Linked DNA regions of Homo sapiens: all the other regions are linked to region 1. The links are contacts of gene promoters, found by promoter capture Hi-C in human tissues and cell types (Jung and others, 2019). All regions are on one chromosome and are shown on one strand. Each heading gives the region's core, a stretch centred on a gene start or on the middle of the fragment in contact. The rest is flanking DNA. Distances are from core to core; before and after follow the strand shown. Region 1 overlaps SAE1 (SUMO1 activating enzyme subunit 1). Region 2 holds the start of FKRP (fukutin related protein). Region 3 holds the start of SLC8A2 (solute carrier family 8 member A2).

Evidence for each region. Contacts are between HindIII fragments. The study calls those that stand out against the background at their distance.
Region 2: the fragment with the promoter of FKRP here is called in contact with a fragment that was not itself captured in region 1 in 1 of the 25 tissues and cell types used here (hippocampus).
Region 3: a contact is called between the fragment with the promoter of SLC8A2 here and a fragment that was not itself captured in region 1, in 2 of the 25 tissues and cell types used here (dorsolateral prefrontal cortex and spleen).

What each region holds. Positions count from the first base shown.
Region 1 is chr19:47,152,243-47,155,933 of GRCh38, forward strand. It overlaps SAE1 (SUMO1 activating enzyme subunit 1), which reads left to right. Exons shown (of 9, transcript NM_005500.3): 4 at 656-798; 5 at 2,872-2,971. Among named protein-coding and RNA genes, the nearest start is that of SAE1, 23 kb to the left of the region's middle. The HindIII fragment of the contact is 5,176 bases long and covers 1-3,691 here.
Region 2 is chr19:46,743,859-46,747,549 of GRCh38, forward strand. FKRP (fukutin related protein) reads left to right here and starts at 2,199. Exons shown (of 4, transcript NM_024301.5): 1 at 2,199-2,232. STRN4 (striatin 4) reads right to left here and starts at 2,592. Exons shown (of 18, transcript NM_013403.3): 1 at 2,291-2,592. The coding sequence starts at 2,572. RefSeq lists silencers at 2,138-2,367, 2,578-2,627, 2,638-2,787, 2,828-2,927, 2,968-3,017. The HindIII fragment of the contact is 7,098 bases long and covers 58-3,691 here.
Region 3 is chr19:47,469,757-47,473,447 of GRCh38, forward strand. SLC8A2 (solute carrier family 8 member A2) reads right to left here and starts at 2,137. Exons shown (of 10, transcript NM_015063.3): 1 at 2,033-2,137. The HindIII fragment of the contact is 16,110 bases long and covers 1-3,691 here.

The DNA of each region.
Region 1 (3,691 bases), core at 703-3,202:
TGGAATACAACCTGGAGGCCCCAGAGCAACACTGATAATTCCACTGAGTGGATCACCAGTTCATTGTCTAAGCCTGAATGGAAGGTCACTTGGTCTGTAACCTTTTCTTTTGTCCTTAAATTCAGATAAAGTTTCACACCGCAATCTGTGGAAAAATGATCTCAACAGGACTTGTTTATCTTCTTTATCTTAACATATCAATCAAAAGGAGGGGGGTAAAAAGCCCTTGTATTTAAACATGACCTTTGGGTCAATTTAAAAAACTGGTTTTGCTTGTCCCTGTAGCTTATTTGGATTTTAATAGATTTAGCAGTATAGAAACAACTTGCTAAGTTATTTTTTTTATGAGAACTATGAAATGTGTATATGTTCGTGGATTACAGAAAACATTTGTTGAATGGCTTTTACTTTTTAGCTAAACACATTTTATTTTGGCTGCAGAACGTGACGGTCTCATAACTTATATTTTCTACACATTGAAACCTGCAACTTTTCTTTTGTCTTCTAGCCATAGGGCCCAAAGAACCTGTTGTACCAGTTTGAAACATGCTTTGAGCATGCCCAGAGAGACTGTTCATTAAGATTTATTTAGACATCAGGGCAGTGATTCACAGTTTGCAAAACTCAAACCCAGCCAATTTCTTTCTTTCTGCAGGTGTGTCTGACTTGCTGCTCCAGGGATGTCATAGTTAAAGTTGACCAGATCTGTCACAAAAATAGCATCAAGTTCTTTACAGGAGATGTTTTTGGCTACCATGGATACACATTTGCCAATCTAGGAGAGCATGAGTTTGTAGAGTAAGTGTTGGGAGAGGAGGGGAGAACATAACATTTTCTCCTTTTTATACTTTTTTTTTTTAAATTATGTATTTATTTATGTGTAGAGACAGGATCTATGCTATGTTGTTCAAGCTGGTCTTGAACTCCTGGGCTCAAGTGATCCTCCCACCTTGGCCTCCCAAAGTGCTGGGATTATAGGCATGATCCACTGCGCCTGGTCTGCTGACATGTTTTCAAGTTGAGAGATAGTAAAATGATTACAAAATAGTTGGGCGATTCTGGAGGCATATTCAACCAAAGTCTACCTTGGAAAAGGTGTCCAATATCCAGAGAGACTCCTCTGGTAGAACAAACAGACCTCATCCTCTCATTTTGAACACTGAGGCTGCAGAACTTGGTAATTCTTACATGACAGGACTTGCCGTGTTTTGACTTTGTAGTCTCTAGGTGAAAGATGGCAGATGATACATTATTGTAAAACTATATGAGTTAGGTATTTTGGCTGCAGTTTCTGACCACCCCCTCCAAAACCCTCCAACTTGCTAATTGAGAGGGAAAGACAGGCTCTGTGAGATAGGAGCTTCCTACCAAGAGACTGAGAACTCTTCTCTTGTTCAGCCTCTCAGGCAAGTCACTGAAATTTCTCTGGTCTCCAAGTTTCTTGCCTGTAAAATCAAGATGGGGGAAGGACAGTCATGTTCCAGACATCTCCTAACTCTAGTGTTTTATGGCTTTAGGATAATCTAGTTCTTTGGGCATATTATTATTATTATTATTTTATTTTTTGAGACGGAGTTTTGCTGTTGTTGCCCAGGCTGGAGTGCAATGGCACCATCTCAGTTCAGAACAATCTCTGCCTCCTGGGTTCAAGCCATTCTCCTGCCTCAGCCTCCGGAGTAGCTGAGATTACAGGCATGCGTCACCATGCCTGGCTAATTTTGTATTTTTAGTAGAGACAGGGTTTTTCCATGTTGGTCAGGCTGGTCTTGAACTCCGGACCTCAGGTGATCCACCCACCTCGGCCTCCCAAAGTGCTGGGATTACACAGGCGTGAGCCACCGCACCCGGCTATTATTATTATTTTTGAGACGGAGTTTTGCTTTTGTCACCCAGGCTGGAGTGCCATGGCACGATCTTGGCTCACTGCAACCTCCACCTCCTGGATTCAAGTGGTTCTCCTGCTTCAGCTTCCTGAGTAGCTGGGACTGCAGGCACCCGCCACCATGCCCGGCAAATTTTTGTATTTTTAGCAGAGACGGGGTTTCACTATGTTGGCTATGCTGGTCTTGAACTCCTGACCTCAGGTGGTCCACCCACCTCAGCTTCACAAAGTACTAGGATTACAGCCACCATGCCTGGCTTCTTTGGGTATATTATAAAGAAGTTATAGTAGTGGGAAGCAATCCAGATTATTTTAACATAAGCTGCCCACAGCAGAGGGGCAGAATTAAGTTTGGCTTTTTTTTTTTTTTTTTTTTTTTTTTTTTTCTGAGACAGACTTTCACTCAGTTGCCCAGGCTGGAGTACAGTGGCGTGATCTCAGCTCATTGCAACCTCCTCCTCCTGGGGTCAACCAATTCTCCTGCCTCAGCCTCCCAAGTAGCTGGGATTACAGGCGCCCACCACCACGCCCGGCTAGTTTTTTGTATTTTTAGTAGAGACGGGGTTTTGCTATGTTGGCCAGGATGGTCTCAAACCCTTGACCTCAGGTGACACGCCCGCCTTGGCCTCCCACAGTGCTGGGATTACAGGCGTGAGCCACTGCACCCAGCCAAGTTTGGCTATTTATTTCATGATTCAAGTAGAGTGTTTACAAAGTAATCACTTTGATTTATTGAGAGCAGCTGTGTGCCCAGCAGTGTGCTGAGCAACTTACGCTGCTCTGTTTTTCCCACAATAATTTCCTGAGTGCCCAACAGTGTACCAGACTCATCATGTTATCAATGGCAGAGCTCGATTTGAACCGAGATCTGACTCCAAAGCTTTTGCCCTTAACCACCATCCCGATCTGTGACCTGGAGAGGCTTTTTTTGATTCCAATAACATGATTCCTAGGGTAAAATTACATTCTCTCCCCTTGTCACCCTCTAGGGAGAAAACTAAAGTTGCCAAAGTTAGCCAAGGAGTAGAAGATGGGCCCGACACCAAGAGAGCAAAACTTGATTCTTCTGAGACAACGATGGTCAAAAAGGTATGTGTAACGTGGGGGCAGAGGTCAGAAACCCTGGGGCCTTGGAGGGGTCAGGCAATGACGATTGAAAAGGATAAGAGCAAGCACTTCTTGAAGGGGTGGGGCGGGTGCTTGTCCCATCTAAAGGGAGGCTGCCACAGCTTAGTGTCAGCCAGCTGTTGCTGTGAGGGAATGTGGGCCCAGTGATTCCAGATGGGATTTTTCAAGACAATGAGAAATGCAAACTTTTGTAGGCTCTGTCCCAAACTTTTTTTTTTGTGTGTGTGAGATGGAATTTTTTCTTGTCGCTCAGGCTGGAGTGCAATGGCATGATCTCGGCTCACTACAGCCTCCACCTCCTGGGTTCAAGCAATTCTCCTGCCTCATCCTCCCAAGTAGCACCCCTGGCTAATTTTTTTTTGTATTTTTAGTAGAGACGGGGTTTCACCATGTTGGCCAGGCTGGTCTCGAACTCCTGACCTCAGGTGATCCACCCGCCTCAGCCTCCCAAAGTGCTGGGATTACAGGCGTGAGCCACCATGCCCGGCCCCATACCCTTTTTTTTTTTTTTTTTGAGATGGAGTCTTGCTGTGTCCAGGCTGGAGTGGCACAATCTCAGCTCACTGCAACCTCCACGTCCCAGGTTCAAGAGATTTTCCTGCCTCAGCCTCCCAAGTAGCTGGGACTACAGGTGTGTGCCACCACACCCAGCTAATTTTTGTATTTTTAGTAGAGACGGGG
Region 2 (3,691 bases), core at 949-3,448, 410 kb before region 1:
TGCCACTGCACTCCACCCTGGGTGACAGAGTGAGACTCTGTCTCAAAAAAATAAAAATAAAAATAAATAAATAAATAAATAAATAAACAAAAGGTCCACCACAGACCAGCCCTTCTGCTCATCTGCTGGGATCCTAGATAAATCACCCTCTCAAAACCTCCATTTCCTCTCCTGATTTTTTTTAAAGGTAGGGGGAATATCCTTTATCCTCCCAGAATGCTGCAAGAATTAAATGACAGCTCGTATCTACAGTACTTGATACAGCGCCCCAGACATGGTATGTGCTCACTAAATTGCAGCTGGTACCGTTATTGCTGAGTGAGGTAATGACACTGCCTCTGCCTACATCACAGGGCATTGTGAAGATCTGATGAGATGTATGCTGGGAAAGAGCTTCGGAAGTAGAGAGTGGGACAGAAGTGAGAGCAGTTACATAAGGATTCTGCTCCCATCCCAGCCCCAAGCCTCAGCCACCACAAGTGAGGGCAGGGGGAGAGTTACTGGAGGGTCTTTACTCATCCTATGAACAAAATGCTTTTTTTTGAGACAGGATCTCACTCTTTTGCCCAGGCTGGAGTGCAGTGGTGCAATCATGGCTCACCGCAGCCTCAACCTCCGGGGTTTAAGCAATCCTCCCACCTCAGCCTCCTGAGTAGCTGGGACTACAGGCGCATGTCACCACACCCGGCTAATTTTTGTACTTTTTTGTAGAGATGAGGTCTTGCTATGTTGGCCAGGCTGGCCTCGAACTCCTGGGCTCAAGGGATTCTCCCACCTCAACCTCCCCAAGTGTTGGGATTACAGGCGTGAGCCACCGCACCCCATCCCTACCGACACAATTCTCATCAGCTATTTATTTGGGTACCAGCTTCCTACTAGATAGCAAACGGCAAATCGGAAGGGGAAAGGTGGGCTGCTACAAGCAGGTAATGACAATTTCTGCTAATAATAACCCAGTCCAAGAATCTTCAGACTTCCAGCGGGCCATTCCTGATCCCTTCAAATCCGGACATCTCCATGGTCCTCCAGTCACTGCCAATGGACCTGACGCTCCACGAGGTCACAAACCCTAGCCCAACTCCTCAGACTCTTCCATTCAACATCCCTGTCCCAAGCTACCCCAAAAACCACGGGGTCTTTTCCCAAGACTTCCACAAACATATCCCCTTCCCCCCAACCCCAGTCTACCCCCGTTCCGAGATGCCTCCTCATGTTGCCTTCGGGCTCTACAAAATTCTCCCCCCTAAAGCATCACCCCAGGGTAACCCCTAACTCGTCCTCATTGGCACCATCCCAGGACCCTCACCTCCATACTGGACATGCCCAACACCCCACACTCCAGTTCAGGGCTCTCTACCTACATCCTACAACACACGTGCCATCTCAGTGCCATCGCGCCCACTCCTGCACACCCCCAAAGTGGAACTTCCACTCTTAAGCTCTCCCATCCAGGCTCCTAGGGTACATTCCCTGCTCTGTCCACACTTCCACTCCAAAGAACCCTTCCCTGCACTGTGCAGCCACACATGCCCGGGATCCCCAAAGTTTCTCCTCAGAGGGGAAGGCACACACCTTCATCCTGGACCCCTTGAAACCCTCCTCCCACCCCTCGGGTCCTTACACAGCCCTCCTTCCGTGCCCACCGTCCAGTCGCCCCGAAACACACCGATCCCAGGTTCCCGACTTCCTCTCCCTAAATCCTCCCGGTTCCCCATCTGGACCCGCTCTTTCCCAGCGGGTCCCAAGTTCCCCCCTTGGACGCTCCCACCTCCAACCTGCACCTGGCTAGGGCCATGGTCGGGGTCGGGGTCGGGAGTCCCTCGGCGCCCGGCAAGCTTCTGCTTACTCCCACAGGAGACCACTCAGGTCTCCCAGACCCCTCCAGCTCCTCTCCACACCCTTTCCCGAGTTCTCTTAGCCTCCCCTCCAGGGCTCGAGTCGCCTCTCTCAGGAGCCCCGCGGCCAGCGTGCTCAGTCCCAGTCCCAGTCCCACTCCCAGCTGGTTGTGGTCCCTCCGCCCCTTTCTCTCGGCCGGTCCCGGTGATCCCTCCCACCCCCGGTCCCTCCACTCCCACCTCGGGCCGTCCCGGTCCCGTCCCACCCCGGAGTGCCCTCAGGACACCCCTCGGACGGCCCCTCACTCGCCCTCCGGGACCGTCGCGGTCCCCTCCCGCCCCCCCGCCGGCCGTCCCGGCGGCCATTGCTCCAAGATGGCGGCGGCGGCGGCAGCGGGTGAGGCCGGGCCGGGCCGGGCCGGGTTGGGGGTCGGGGGTCCCGGGACAGCGCTCACCTGTAACTCGGCGCGCTCGGCCTCCCAGCGGGCTTTCTCGGCTTCGAAGCGCGCCCACTCGTGCTGGATAAAGTGCAGGATCCCCGGCAGGCTCAGGGGCTCCGGGCCCGCCGTGGGCCCGGGGCTGCCTCCGCCGCCGCCTCCCTTACCTGCCGGGCCCGGCCCGGGGGCAGGGGCGGAGACCGGGGCCGCCCCAGTGGGGCCAGGGCCCGCGCCTGAGCCGAGCGGACGGCAGGAGGAGGCGGCGGCGGCGACCGCGGCGGCCGCTCGCTCCTCCATCATGGAGGCCCCGGGGCCGGCCTGCGCGCCCGCTGTGCCTCGCGCGCCTGCGCGGCCGCGCCAACACCCCCCCCCCTCCCCCGCCGCAACCACCGCGCGCGCGCCCGGCGGGGGACAGTAGGAAGGGGGGCCGGCGGCGAGCGCGAGCCTCGCCCACCCGGGTCTACACCGAAGGGTAGCGTGCCCGCGCGGGGGCCGGCGGGTGGGAGATCGCGCCCCGAGGAGGGCGAGGGAGACCCAGGCCCCGCGCGACGGTCCCCCTCGCTGGAGTGAGACTGAGGAAGGGGCCGCTTTCTGCCCCCCTCCTCCCACTTCGCCCCAGAGAAAGAGCCTTACCCCTTCCACACCCAAACACCACTCTCCTGGACAATTACTTTTACTCTGAGAGAAAGGGCGACCAGCAGTGGCCCCATCCTCTCTGATTGCCGGCCAGGTTGGTTGTCATGGTAACCCTTCCCCAGCGGTGGGGGCGAGGTGGTGGGGAGCAGCCTTCCCCTCGCTTCCACCTTTGTGGTTATGGAGCCCCAAACCTCTTAGGACTCTGCACCAGGAGAAGGTTGCTAAGGTAACCTAAGTGTCCGTGGTGGTCCTTCTGCTCCTATCCTCATTGATTACTATGGCAACCTCCCCCCCACCTAGCATTCAGGTAGAAAGGACCCCAGCCCCAAGGACACTGATCTCTAAGAGAAGCACCTCTTCCCCAGCCCCTCCCCCATAGCCACCTAGTTGGCATTACCATGGTAACCGTCTTCCCCTTCCCATCGTGGGAGGCCCATGCACCAAACTAACCAGGTGTTTTTATTTAGAGGAGATGCTCTGCTGAGGGGCAGTTGCTATGGTTACAGGGCCTGGACCTTCCTCCGGAAGGTGAGAAACAGGCAAGTTCAAGGCCTGGTTACTATGATAATAGAGCAGCCCCCTTCGAGTGACCCTAGGAACCAAGCCCAACAAAGGAGGGGATTTTTTTTTTTTTTTTTTTTTTTGAGACAGAGTGTAACTCTTGTTGCCCAGGCTGGGATGCAATGGCCCAATCTCGGCTCACCACAACCTCCGCCTCCCCGGTTCAAGCCGTTCTCCTGCCTCACCCTCCCAAGTAGCTGGGATTACAGGCATGCGCCACCA
Region 3 (3,691 bases), core at 887-3,386, 320 kb after region 1:
TTTTAGAATCCAGGGGCAAAAGGATCAGGTGGAGCCCAGGGTGGGAGCGGGGAGGGCAGATGGCAGGTACCGTCTCCCAGGGCCATCTCTCCCTCCCTTCGTGGGCGTGCGGCCAGCTGGGTCGGCAGTGAGCACCCCTGTTCTGCCTCACGTGCCTCTTAGGTCCTTGATCAGAAGAACAGGACTGCATGCCTGGGGGTGGGTGCAGTCTGGCGTGCCAGGTAAGACCCGTCCTTCATATCCCTCACGCTACCACCCCACAGTGGGGCGGCAAGGGAGGGTGCTTTTCTGACTGTGCCTGTGTTGGGGGGCTGGCCCTTGCAGGACCGAGCTGGGGACTCAGACTTCTAAACATGCACATTTACTGCCCCAGCATGAGCGCAGGCGCTCCCATCACCTCAAAATGGTCCAGTGTGGGGATCACACCACAGAGCTTGGGTGCTCGAGGCTGTGATACACTGATAATACGTAAACTGAGGCCCAGAGGAGGAACAGGGCTCTTAACCTAGTGCTCTTTAAAGCCATCTGAAGCCCCCTCCGTGGGCACTGTCACACAGGGCTGGGACCTCACCTGCAGCCAGGGAGACATCATACACACACACACACACACACACACACACACACACACACACCAGGGCTACAGGCACAGCCTCGTACCTTTTCGCCATCACTCACTCTCTTGCCCACCTTCTCCAGGGCCCCCTTCTCTCAAGGAAGGCAGACAGTGTGTTGGCCAGGGCCCTCTCAGCACCCCCCACTGAGACAGTGTGAGGCTGGCACACCAGGAAAGGGATGGAAGTGAGACTGCAGGAAGGACTGGCCCGGTCTAACTCAGTACCTAGTGCTTGCCCAGAGCAGGAAAGGCGCTCAGTAATTATCAACAAGAATGAATGAATCAAGAGCTGGACAAACAGCAAGAGGTATGGAAGTGAGACGGCAGGAAGGACTGGTCCAGTTACACGAGGAAGACTGGGGAGGTTAGATTGAAGGGAGGTCTGGTCTCATCTCTACTACAGAGGCTACCGGTTAAACTGCAAGAAGGACCGGCCTCAGAACGCCAGAAACAAGGCAGGGGGAGGTGGGCTCGGTCCTCAGGGGAGAGCTGGGGTGGGTGCCGGCTGGGAGGAGTGGAGAGAGCAGGGGAGCTCTGCTGAAGTGGGGAGAGGAGTTTAGAGGACTCCAGGCCTGGGGGAGCCCACTCTGCGGGTGGGGGGGTCTAATTCCTCCAGGTCCCCCCTGCCAGGGGCGGAGACAAAGGTGTGTGGGAGGAGGGTGCACTGGCTCCCAGGGAGAGCCAGAGAAGAGGAAAGAGAGAGAGAAACAGAGACTGAGATATCCAGAGACAGAGATGGAGACGAGGGGGAGATGGGGAGGGAGGGAGAGAGAGAGAGAGAGAGAGAGACATGCGGACATGGGAAGAGACAGAGACACAGAGAAAGCAGAGACAGAGAGAGACACAGGAAAGCTGAGACAAGGGAGAGAGGCAGAGACACAGAGACACAGAGAAACAGAGATGGCGCAAGAGGAAAGGAGAGAGAAACCCAGGACTTAGAGACAGAGCCCCAGAGAGACTCCGAACAGACCCCGGCACAGAGACACAGAGAGAGGGAGACAGGAGTGAGAGACTGAGAGACAGGGACTCCCAGAGGCGGCCAGACTCTGCTAGACAGAGACCCCTGAGACATGTGGAGAGACAGAAAGATGAGACCCAGACACAGGAAGGCGGGGGCAGAGGTAGAGAGCGCGAGGGGGGGTGCCCCAGACGGGGTGGGGGCGGGGTGTCCTCGCCCCCCAGTACCCAGGCGGTCCCCCTCCCCAGCCGCCCGAGAACCAGGAGGGACTGAAGGTGTTGGGGCGGCTGGTGGCACTCCCACCCCACAGAAGGTACGCGTGCTGGGCCAGGCAGCCCCCCACCTCCATAAACCAGCCCAGGGAAGCCAGCTCCAGGCTTCCCGAACCGCCCCCACTCCGCACCTGGGGTAACCCCGTCCTTTTCCCACGCCCCCACCTCCCCACCAATGGGGTCTCTTACCTGCGGCTACAGCCTGGAGCAGGTCCCCCCAGCGCTGGGCTGGCAGTGGTGGGCGACTCCGCCCGAAAGAGAGAGAGAGATTGAGAGAGAGAAAAGCCTGAGACTGAGAGGGAGAGCCGGGGAGGAGGGGAGGGAGAGGGGATAGAGGGAGGAGAAGAGGAGAGGGGAGGGACACGGGGGAGGGGGAGGCGGCGAGGGAGCGAGGGAGGGGGAGGAGCCGGAGAGAGGGGGAGGAGGCGGAGGCGGGCAGAGGGAAGGCGGTGCGGGAGGCGGGGGGAGGCCCGGGGAGGGGCCTGGGGGAGCAGGGAGCCCGAGCCTCCTCCCCAGCCTCCGGGTTCAGCACCAGAGGCAGGGGACAGCACCGGAGGGCGCTCCTGTGTGTTTCAGAAGCAGCCCCCGCCCCCCAACACACACACACACACACGCACACACACACACGCACGCAGTCTCCCAGCCATACAAGGGCCAACAGCTACAAATAGTTACAGACTTACAGAACTAGGGGGAGGGCAAGAATGTTTAGCTGGAGTCAGATCCAAATTCACATACTGTGCCTGCACAGCCTCACAAAGGAGGCCAGAAACAACCACAAAGACACCCATTAATAAGAATAACAACAGCTGCCATACATACAGGCAGCCCTGACCACGTGCCTGGCATCGGCAGCACATTATTATTATTTGAGACAGGGTCTCACTCTGTCACCCAGGCTGGAGTGCAGTGGCACGATCTTGGCTTACTGCAGCCTCAACCTCCTGGGCTCAAGCAATCCTCCTGCCTCAGCCTCCTGAGTAGCTGGGACTACAGGTGCCCGCCACCACCACGCCAGGCTTTTTCCCTCCATTTTTTTTTTTTAGGAGATGGGATCTCACCATGTTACCCAGGCTGGTCTCCAACTCCTGGGCTCAAGCGATCCTTCTGCCTTGGCCTCCCGAGTAGCTGGGACTACAGGTGCCCACCACCACCACGCCAGGCTTTTTTTCTCTTCATTTTTTTTAAGAGACGGGGTCTCACTATTTTACCTAGGCTAGTCTCCAACTCCCGGGCTTAAGCAATCCTTCTGCCTCGGCCTCCCAAAGCGCTGAGATTACAGGTGAGAGCCACCGCACAGGTGAGAGCCACCGCACCTGGCATGTTCTAATGTTTTTTATAAATTTAGGTAAATGCTATTATGAGCTTCACTTACAGACAGGGAAACCAAGGCATGAGGTGGTAAATATGGCTCCAGATTCTACACCCTTAACTGCTGCACCGCACAATTCCCCAGGCTGAGGACGGGTCAGGTCAAGAAGAGACTTGCAGGCTGGGTGCGGTGGCTCACGCCTGTAATCCCAGCACTTTAGGAGGCTGAGGCGAGCAGATCACTTGACGTCAGGAGTTGGAGACCAGCCTGGCCAACATGGCGAAACCCTGTCTCTTCTAAAAATACAAAAATTAGCCAGGCCAGGTGGCACACGCCTGTAATCCCAGCTACTTGGGAGGCTGAGGCAGGAGAAATCGCTTGAACCTGGGAGGTGGAGGCTGCAGTGAGCTGAGATCATGCCACCGCACTCTAGCCTGGGTGACAGAGTGAGACTCCATCTCCAAAAAAAAAAAAAAAAAAGAAAGAAATGAACTGCAAAGGGCCAGGCAGGTGGCCTGGGCTCCTGAAGACACAAA